Linked DNA regions of Homo sapiens: region 1 is linked to region 2. The links are contacts of gene promoters, found by promoter capture Hi-C in blood cells and fetal thymus (Javierre and others, 2016). All regions are on one chromosome and are shown on one strand. The core of a region is centred on a gene start or on the middle of the fragment in contact, and the rest is flanking DNA. Distances in the headings are between cores, read along the strand shown. Region 1 overlaps LOC105373710 (a long non-coding RNA gene). Region 2 holds the start of GPD2 (glycerol-3-phosphate dehydrogenase 2).

The links. Contacts are between HindIII fragments. The CHiCAGO score rates a contact against its expected background, and 5 or more counts as called.
Region 1: a contact is called between a fragment that was not itself captured here and the fragment with the promoter of GPD2 in region 2, in 1 of 17 cell types (endothelial precursors). The highest score is 7.9, in endothelial precursors.

The regions. Positions count from the first base shown.
Region 1 is chr2:157,045,724-157,050,514 of GRCh38, forward strand. The region is part of intron 1 of LOC105373710 (a long non-coding RNA gene); the gene reads right to left. It overlaps LOC105373709 (a long non-coding RNA gene), which reads left to right. Exons shown (of 4, transcript XR_001739755.2): 3 at 1,180-1,366; 4 at 2,978-4,791. Among named protein-coding and RNA genes, the nearest start is that of GALNT5, 210 kb to the right of the region's middle. The HindIII fragment of the contact is 700 bases long and covers 2,092-2,791 here.
Region 2 is chr2:156,433,594-156,439,096 of GRCh38, forward strand. GPD2 (glycerol-3-phosphate dehydrogenase 2) reads left to right here and starts at 2,786. Exons shown (of 17, transcript NM_000408.5): 1 at 2,786-2,920. RefSeq lists silencers at 1,888-2,057, 2,498-2,907 and an enhancer at 2,298-2,347. The HindIII fragment of the contact is 5,965 bases long and covers 1-5,229 here.

The DNA.
Region 1 (4,791 bases), core at 1,192-3,691, 610 kb after region 2:
ATCCAAACAATGGTTAGGAACAAACTTTCATACAAATGAGGACTTATGAAGCTCTTACGGTCATATAAAGGAGAAAAAATCCAGTATCTCACTAAGATTTGTCATGAAGCATACTACGTTTCTACATGATATTTATATGCGAAATAAAATCCTAAAAGTCAGTATGTCCTATTCAGATCCCTGCTCTGCCACTTACTATTGATCAAACTTTAATTATACAACCTCTCTACATCTCAGTTTTTTCATACATACAAGTGGCATAGTAATAATAGCTACATTATATGGTTGTTGTGAAGATAAAATTAGTCAAGTAATTTAATTAACTGGAAAAGCACTGGTTCTAGATAAGTGTTAGTAATTATCATTATTATGGGTAGAGAGTATGGTATATTGGTTAAGGACTCTGGCTCTGGCATTAGACATCTATGTTCAACTCCAAGTTTTTGCTACATATAGGAGGTTGGAGAAACTATTCAGTCTCTCTATATCTCAGTTTCTACATCGGCCAAATGGCTTATGAGAATTGTAAAGGTAAGAAAGACTGGATGACGCCATTTAATCTGCCTTAAGTGACGTAGAAAAAGATATGATCGTATACTATTGGGGTGATAATTTATGGCCTCGGAGGAGGTAAAAGGGCATATTGCACAGTCTACTTGTGAGCAATCACTTTGCTGAGCCCACAGTGATGATGTCAAGTTGAGGCCAAACTCAAGTTAGCCAAGTGAACCTCACTTAGCCAAGTTAACTCTGTGGGTCAGGTCTATTCCTCATATATTCACAAGAGAGAACACCAGCAGTGATCTGCAAATGCTGCAAATAATACCTGAGGAGTGAAAATAGTACCATAACAATGTTTTGCGGTTGCCTTCTGTTTCTATGTTCTGGGCCATCTCTCTCATTGGCTTTAAAGAAAGAGAAGTGTGGAAAGATTGCACAACACCACCACCACTAAACTGAAACAAATATAATTTCTAGCAAAGTTGAATTTCCACATGATCATGTTTAAAAATCACAAAAGTAAGTCTGGGTCTAAAAAAGTACTTGAGCAATTTACCCCATTTGAGAACTCTCTAGGTTTGAAATCTCATATTGAAGCGTGACTGCTGTGGCTTGGTTTTCCACATTTATCAGTGTGGGGGCACTGGCCATGATTCTTCTTTCCTTTGTCCTCCCCAGGCATTGGCACAGTCTTTGGACATGAAAATCATGGAGAAGGAAGAGGCTGATTGTTATCCATGATTAGGCAGTGCAGATATAGCTCAATATTCCAAATGGGATGTTTTGGCCTTGGAGTTAAGTTCCAAGAGCATTATAAAATAATCACCTGTATAGGAAGTCCTGACTTAACTCTATTAACAACTTCGTAAGTATAAGAACAATTATCGTACTATTTCATTTTGATAAATTTGTATTCTATTTTTAGCATTTTATAAGACATACATCTCTTTTGTTTTCTGATAATGATAAATGGAGATAAAAGTAAAGAATCATTTTCCTTCTCTTGATTACATTTGCACTTTCCCATTCCAACTTCTCCTACTCCTGACTACACCTGTCTTCAATATACGCCTAGCTTTTTCCTTTAACCAAATGTAATTTGTTCAAATTGTCCTTTACAAACTTTAAGAAAGCCTATTTGGTATATATGAGGCAACGCAAGGCTTTAAAATACTTAGCATTTCTATGATACAGCTCATTTTCAATGCACTTTAAAAATATTAGCTAATTAATTAATTAGTTCCTGATTACAAGGTGGCAGAAGTTCAAGGAGAAAATTGACACATTTCTCTACCTTTATAAAGAAAACTTGTTTATATAAGAGAATATCATTTCTTTTTTGAGTAATATGTACTGTTGTAAAAAATGTTGTGTTTTTGCTAGAACTAGGTATAATAATCATTAAAAATGAATAACAGTAATAATACTAGTATAAATACAACAATATTTTTCAAGGTGGATACATATTTGTTAGACTCTGCTCCTTAAGAACAGGAGCTGTCTTGTTCTCCTTTGTGGCTTGGCACCTAACAGTCCCTGGCCTGGAAAATATAAATACACTAATTTATAGGAGATGAAATCTAATTTGTAAGCTTTGTTTCATACAATGATAAACAATATAAGAACCAATGCAAAACAGCATTACTCCACATAAAAAGGAAAGCAAGGAACACAACAGTGTGGTTAATTTTCTAATCACAAAGTTATGTCTACATGCCATTAATCCTCAGGAAGCAAACTGAAAAAAAATTACCAAATTTGAGCATAATTTGTGTGTAAAAAGAGAATAGATTTCGCTTTTGATGTCATTTCATACAAGGAGCAATCAAGTTCATTCAAACATAGGTTCAAATATATTTTCTTAAAATAGTTACCCTAATATTGTAACAGTTGAATTGGTTGAAAGTGTAATTCCTCCTTATCCATCTGATGTCAAATAGCTAGATATTTCAAATTGACCTTTTAGTTTTACACATGAGTTCCTGATTTGAGATAAACACAAAACTAGGCTGCCTGTACACATAAACAGTGTAATTTCTTTTGATAGCCAAATCCTGTATTTAACAACAAAGACAAAGTGATGGATATATTTTTAAAATTTAGAGATAACATCATAATTTTATACAGTAAGTCATAATCCAAGATATGTGATTTCTATTTGGGAAGACAAAGTTCTGCTTATCCTCTCTTACTGAGCAAAACCAAACAACTGATAATTTATTCTGGCATATAATAGCTAAGAAATATAAGCACACGGATTGCAAAAGCTATCCAAAAATTTGAATTTATAAGCTTACCTATAGGCATTTCTTTTTTTCACACAAGGAGAAAAATAGATGTTAAATCCAGCAGTGGCTATTAAGATATTTTTTTGCTCTCTGAACTCTTTGAAAAGATGATAAAAATTTCTAAAACTTTTCTTCAGATAAAATTATATAAAAATAATACGAATACAACATTTTGCACTTTATTTCAGGAAAGTCACATACCTGAAGATGATCCTGCATGTCCATAGAGCCTAGGTCCCTCAAAAGATGGTGTTGCAATGACAGAAATTGAGACATCAAGAGAACGTTTAGCAGAATAAGTTAGTTAAGATGTAGGTGTGTCGAAAGTTTCAGGTGTCAGTAAACATCAAAAGAAAATGTAGCAGTAGCTAGAAATTTCCAGGCTGAAGATGAAGGTTAAAGCTAAAGATAGACTATTTTTGTCATCTACATGGAAGATGATGGCTAAAGCTATAAGAGTGAATGACATCAGCAAGGAAGAAAATACAGGAATAAGGAAGAAGAGATGGTGAAATGGCTACTCGTAAGGAGTGGGAGAAAGAATAAATGAGAAGAAAATGAAGAATGTGTGGCCAAGAACATAGGAGAAAAGCCAGGAAGATCAATGTCTTATCAACAGACAGATTTGAGCAGCAGGTACTCAACAGAGCTTAAGAAAAACAAATATTGAGAACAGAGTAAGGACTATTTCATTTGGTGAACAGGAGATTTCTATTGAACTAGAATAGCTAGGTAACTACATTTTCATGGGTTAAGAAGAGAAGAGGAGAAAGAACAGTGAGGAAGAGAACCCATTGTATTATTGAGGAATTTTGAAGTCAAATAAAAAAGAGATGTGAGTGGAATGACATAATTCTAGAGATAAGTGAAGCTGGAGAATGTTACATGCTTGGAAGGAAGGAGTGAGTCTTAGAAATTAAGGGAGCAAGTTCCTTCAAGACAGATGAAACGTAATGAGCAACAGAATGAACTAGATATGATAATGATGCAAAACTCTTCTTTGTTACATACAGGCTGGGAGAAGGGTCCACACAAAAATTCTGAGATGGAGATGATGGCTAAAGTTAGAGTTCACATTGGATGACTTTGAACTCAGTAAACTAGGTGAATTTGCCAGAAGATATGAAGCTGTGGGAACTTGGAAGCCCAGGACACTATGATATTGATTACAGGGAAATAGTTCAAAAATATCACAAGATTACAAGCAGCTGTAAGTGTCTTGACTAGCGAAAGACCTTGGATTTGTAGAGCATCAGTCTATGTATGTCTACAACAATATTCATCAATTTTATTAATCCAAGACTGGGTATTAGAACAGGCAGGGAGTTAGGAGAACTTGGTATTGACAGGGGCAATGTCAGTCAGCAACATGGCAGCATGCAAAGAACTTTGGTCTGTGAGATCAGGAATCTAGGTTCTGGGTTCATTCATTACATTGTCCTAGGCTAATAACTTTCTTCTTTCACTCTTATGTCTTCATTTGTAAACTGGAGATGCTAGACTATGTAATTTCAAATATGGTTTCAAATGGAAAGAAAATCTTATTCTTGAGGCAAAGTAGAGTTGCAGAAAGAGCAACATCTTTGTGGTCAGGCTTTACTCTCTACTTCTGCCACTTTATCGCCTGTGACCTTGAGAAAGTTACTTCTTTGCACCTCAGTTTCCTCATCCATAAAATGGTGAAAAGAGTAAGTTATGGGGAAATGTTAAAGATAAAATTTGAATAGTAGTCATCAATAATTGCAATAATTGTTTATTTGATTATATTGATTTGATTTTTTTTTTTTTTTTTTTGAGACAGAGTCTCGCTCTGTTGCCAGGCTGGAGTGCAGTGGCACAATCTTGGCTCACTGCAACCTCCACCTCCCAGATTCAAGCGATTCTCCCGCCTCAGCCTCCTGAGTAGCTGGGACTACAGGTGCATGCTACCACGCCCAGCTAACTTCTGTATTTTTAGTAGAGACGGGTTTTCACAATGTTGGGCAGGATGGTCTCGATCTCT
Region 2 (5,503 bases), core at 1,536-4,035:
CTGGTCTCCCGCACAGCTGGCTTTGCGTGAATTACTCTTGCAATTCCCTTGTCTTGATCAATCGACTCTGTCTAGGCAGCGGGCAAGGTGAACCCCTTGGGCGGTTACACTAGCTAGCAGTGTGACTAGGACTAGTGGGGAAAATAATCAGCTGACATAGTATGGATTGGACCAGATCGCTCACCTAAGCATTCATTTCAAATCAAGAAACATTTAAACATCAGTTATATTCAGGCACTATGCTAGGCACTAGAGTACAAAAGTGAGTAACTGATGGTCCCATTTCCCAAGCACTGAACTGATCTGGGATAATCAGTGAGAAGGAAATCCAGGACTGGCACCCAACTCAACCAGATTATTCCTTTTCTGGGTAACATGTTGCATTTCTAGATAAATGATGAGGGTTTGAAAAAAATGATAAAAATATTGGTTTGATTTGTCAAACTAAAGAAAAAAGAACTGAGGCATACTTAATATAACCAGTCTCATGATGTTGCCCAGTCACAAGTTTTTATTTATTTATTTTTTGAGATGGAGTCTCACTCTGTTGCCCAGGGTGGAGTTCAGTGGTGCCATCTCAGCTCACTGTAACCTCTGCCTCCCAGGTTCAAGTGATTCTCCTGCCTCAGCTTCCTGAGTAGCTGGGATTACAGGTGTTTGCCACCATGCCCGGCTAATTTTTGTATTTTTAGTAGAGATAGGGTTTCACCATGTTGGTTAGGCTGGTCTTGAACTCTTGACCTCGTGATCTGCCCACCTCAGCCTCCCAAAGTGCTGAGATTACAGGCGTGACCCACTGCGCCTGCCCGGCCACAAGGAAGTTTTTAAAGGAAAAGAAGAGGCAGTTTCTAAATTGTTTACCAATAATTTACATAAAAAAACAAACTATTAATTGTCTATAGATTGTTCTTCGTATCACAAATTCCAGGAACATGAAGATATGGTTGGGTAGTCAGTCATGAACAAAATGCCTTTAAACAATCGCCTCTGAGCATGAGTGTGGGGGGTGCAACTTATGTCCCATATTCAAGGTCTCTCTGGGCCTGATAAATTTTGCATACCTCACATTGCTCAAATGCTCTGAACTATTTTTCTTTTCTCAACTACAATTTCCTTTTTCTGGTTGCTCATGATTCAACTGGGGGAGCTTTTAAACCGTGGTTCTCAAACTTTAATGTGCATCAGAACTACCCAAAGGGCTTGTTAAATCTGGGTAGCTCAGCCCCAGCCCCAGAGTCTATGAATCAGGTCACTGGAGTACAGTTTCTGTCAAGTTCTCAGGTGATGCTGATGCTGCGGGCTCCAGTGACTACACTTTTAGAGCCAGTTTTAAAATACAAGGACTTGCAGATCCCACGTCCAGACTGACTCATTGGACTTGGGGATGGAAATCTGGCATTCCACCCCTCCCTGCCCCCTCCCCCCAATTTTAATGTGTCCAAGGGTGAGAATCATTGCTCCTCTGTGGACTATGGATGGTTCCCTGAAGTTACTGAGTTTGGGATTTAATAAATATATGCATTCCTCTGGGTCAACTACAGGAATTCTGCGGTATTTAAGGACATTAAATGAGTGACTTAATACTTTATTTAAAAAAATACCACTGCTTTTTGGTTCACACTAATTTTCTTCCTTCTTTTGGAAAGGCATTTCCGTCCATCTCCTGGATATTTTCCAATACCACGATAGAAAGGTTATTAGTACAGCACCCAGAGGTCTTCGGAGCAAAGCTGTTAAAGAAGTGGGGTCCATTTGAGCCCCAACTTTGCCTTCCTTAGGTCCCCTTGGGCTTGTCTAGCCCTAGGAGTTCCAACAAGTAAGCTGGGCATGCTCAGTGGGCAGGGTCGTTTTTTTTTTTTGGGTGGCGGGGGGTTGCAAGTGGGAAGCCTGCTGTTCAGCTGCCGGGGCTCTCCGCCTCCCCCCACCTGTATGAGGCTGGGTCTGGGGAACCTGTGCTCAGCATTCCACCCCCTGGAGCTTGGGCTTGGTCTTCCCTGCGGGTCCCTGCGCTGACATTCAGGCGGGGAGCCAGGAGGCCTGGCGCGCCTCCAGAGCCCGCCGGGGGAGCCGGGCGAGGGTTCTGGGCTCTGACGGCGGGGTCGCAGGGTCGCCCGCCTCCTGGACACGTCTGTAGGCCTAGGGAAGCCTGCCGGCCGGGAGGTACAGAGTAGGAGAAGCCAGATCCCAGGGCGGACAACGAGAAGTCGTCAGGTAAGCCAGCCCCGCCAGCGTGCCGGCGGACGAGTGTCTCCTCTCCCGCAGGCAGATGGCCAGGGCGGCCCGCATGGGCGAGGGCACAGGAAATCGGACACCGCCACCGTCTTCCCCAGCCTGGCCTAGCTCAGGCTTTCCAGTCCGCCAGCCCGCTGGCAAGGCGGGGCGGAGGTCTGGAGTCCGGCATCGCCGAGGCACAAAGCAGGAACTGCAGCCAGGGGCGAGGGCCCTTGCGTGTGGCGCTGCGCGACCCCACCCGGCGGCAGGACCCGCGTCCCCGTCTAGTCACGTTCATTGGGCCACGGAGACCACCTCGCTCGCCGCCCGCTGTTGGCTTTTCCCTCCCACACCCCCGCCAACCCCGGCCCCGGTTCCCGCCCCCACTTCCGCGTTTCCCCGCTGGGCCGGAGGAGCCTGGGCCCGAGGTATCCGGGCAGGAGGTGGCGGCCTCGCCGCCCTGGTCAGGCCTCCGGGAGGGAGCAGGCGCGGGAGCGGGAGGAGGAAGTCGGGAAGAGGGAAGGCGGGGGCGCGGCCCGCCCGGCGCTCGAGTTACACCCGCCCAGCCCGCCTCGAGTGACAGCCCCGCGCGCCTCGCTGGGAGCACCCGGGCCGAGGCTCTGATTCTGGGGGGAGGCCGACTCCACCCTGGCTGGAGGAACTGGGTGCTCCTGCCCGCTGGCCCCTCGCGCGTGAGGATCTATCTCAGGTGTGTGCTTCCTGGGAGACCCCTTCCCCCGCCTCTAGTATTCTAGGGGGGGAGTGGTCCCTTTCTGACCCGGGCGAGTGTTCTGGGACTCCAGTCTTGGCGGTAGGTGGTGGCGGGAAACGGGAAAGATTTAGAATTTCTTCCCACCAGCAGAAGATGGATTCGCTCTTCTCTAGGGTTTCGTTGTTTATGTTTTGGAGGCGGCATTTGTAAAATAGTAAAGTGGCAGGACTTTTGGGGCGAGGGTTGGTACCCCATTGAAAGTTCATGCAAACTTTTAGCTTGTAGATGCGGCTAGTCTGATAAGGATTGTTGCTCCCTTCCGAAGCAAGAGTGAGAACGAGTCTGGAGGAGGGCTGAGGCTTCTTTGAGAAACTCAGCTGCTGGCGTGTGACCGTCCTAGGAGGAAATGGAAGGTGCACACTGATAACTTAAAACAGCCTCCACTCCCTATGTAGTAACTTCTACCAGCAAAAATAGATTTGCAAAGAGTGCTTTGGCAGGAAGGTGTAGCTGGGTGAATGAAGTGCTGCTCTTAGCAGATGGTCTCTAGTCTGGCTTCCACCTTGTGCAGTGGAATATTCACTCCCAGAAGAGTTCCAGAGTAATTTACAAACACAAATTCTTGCAAAGTGTTAGTGACATGGGCAACCCAAATCACACACAACACATTATAAATATCATAGGAGGCAGCTATAGAAATAGCAGCTAGTCAACTTATACTTGTATAAATAGGTGAGGGAAGGAAGTTAGTAAGTGACAGGGAGTCTTTATTGCTAAAACAAAACTGTTAGTATTTTGCATGTGTTCCAAGTTTAAAGAGATGTGAAGTTTCTTTTTGGCGTGTGGACGGTGCTGGCAGCTGTCACACTGGGCCCAGGCACTTCTTCGTAGCTACTGACCACTCTAGTCCCAGTCCTACAGTTCTTGCTGGCTACCACATGACATCTGGATGCCATTGCCCAATGGAGACCGTGTGCAGTCTGGGGAACCTTGTGATGTGGATGTTGAAACCCCCCTCTGTTTCTCACAGGGGCGTTATGTCAAATTACAACACTCCCTTGACTTTTACAAATCAACTCGTGAAATAATACAGCAATATTTTAATGAATAAATGGGTAAATATGGGGTTTTGGGTTTGAGAACCAACAATGGATTCATTGCAACTGTCCATTCTCATAGCTTATAGAGTCACTTTATTTTATAAAGAAATTCTAAACAGCATTAGAGCTCTGCTTCCTTCTTTCTCCCTTGTGATTCATTCAAAGATGCAATGGCTTGGTTCAGGAATTGACAAAAGGGCCACAGTGTTACCAATTGTTAGTGAGTGTTACCACCCCCTTTAGTTTTTTTTGTAACTATTTAATCTCATTGTAGATATTTTAAAAGATTTGATGATTATTGTGCATAACTCATGTTGGCAAACTATTATAACTCTGAACTTATCCTGTTTGGTTGTTTTCTTTCATCTCTAGCGTGTAAGTTCTATGAGAGTAGCAGGGCTTGTTCTGTCTTGCATACTTTCAAAACTCTAATGCCTGGAGTGGTGACTAGCTTGTAATACACCCTCAATAAATGTTTTCTCAATGAGTGACCTCCAATGCCTAGAGGGGTGACTAGCTTGTAATACACCCTCAATAAATGTTTTCTCAATGAGCGACTGAACTGTGGAACAAACTCCAGCTGAGGGTAGTTGTGGAGCGGGGAGCCAAAGACTTTGGCCTTAGGTCATCTTTTAAAACTCAGCCTCAATTGTCTCATTGGCAAAATATGGATAATAAATGCTATGACGTGTGTAAAATTGCTAGCAATGTACCTGGCAAGTAGTAGACTTCAAAAGACTAGCTTCCATCCTATATTTTTCCTTCTTATACTCAAGTAGGAAAATATGGGCAAAGAATGTAGTTAGCTTGAAAATTTGGGCAAAGAATTCTTGCATGTTGTGCATGAATTATCCGTACATTTTTTTCGGTTAGTTGAGTGTGTTGGGATGGGGAGAGGAGAGGCGAGTTAGTGGTAGCTATGGTTATTAGAGAAGGGAAGCAATTTTCAGATCAGTATCTAATTTCTCAGTTTTAGTTTTTGAATGTGATGATGTTTCTGTTTAGGTTTTCCAAAACTTGATTCTTTCTGTTTGTCAACACCTGGACTCATGGGGCTATCCTAAGTGCAGAAACAACACTTCAGAAAGAGGACTAGAAATCAAATATATGAACACTAGTCTTCTTAAATGAAATTTTCTGTATTCTTGTGCAGCATTATATTGTGTAATAAGTGCTAAATAAAAAAATAGTTAACCTCTTTTGAGAAGCTTACAGTTGTTTAACAAGGTAAAACATAGATGGAAAACAATTGGAGACCAACATAAGACCTCGTACAATCATTTTTCCAGTGGTAGGATGTTGGCCAGAACTGATGTGATTATGAAGGAAAAGGTTAATATTGGCTCAAGTAGTTGGAGACAGCTTCCTGGTGAAGGGAATGCCACTTCAGTAACAGAGAGACTTAACATGTCCTGAAGACTATTGGAAAGATCACCTTTGTTTTAGGAATGTTTGCTATTGTGTACTTCATTGTATGAAA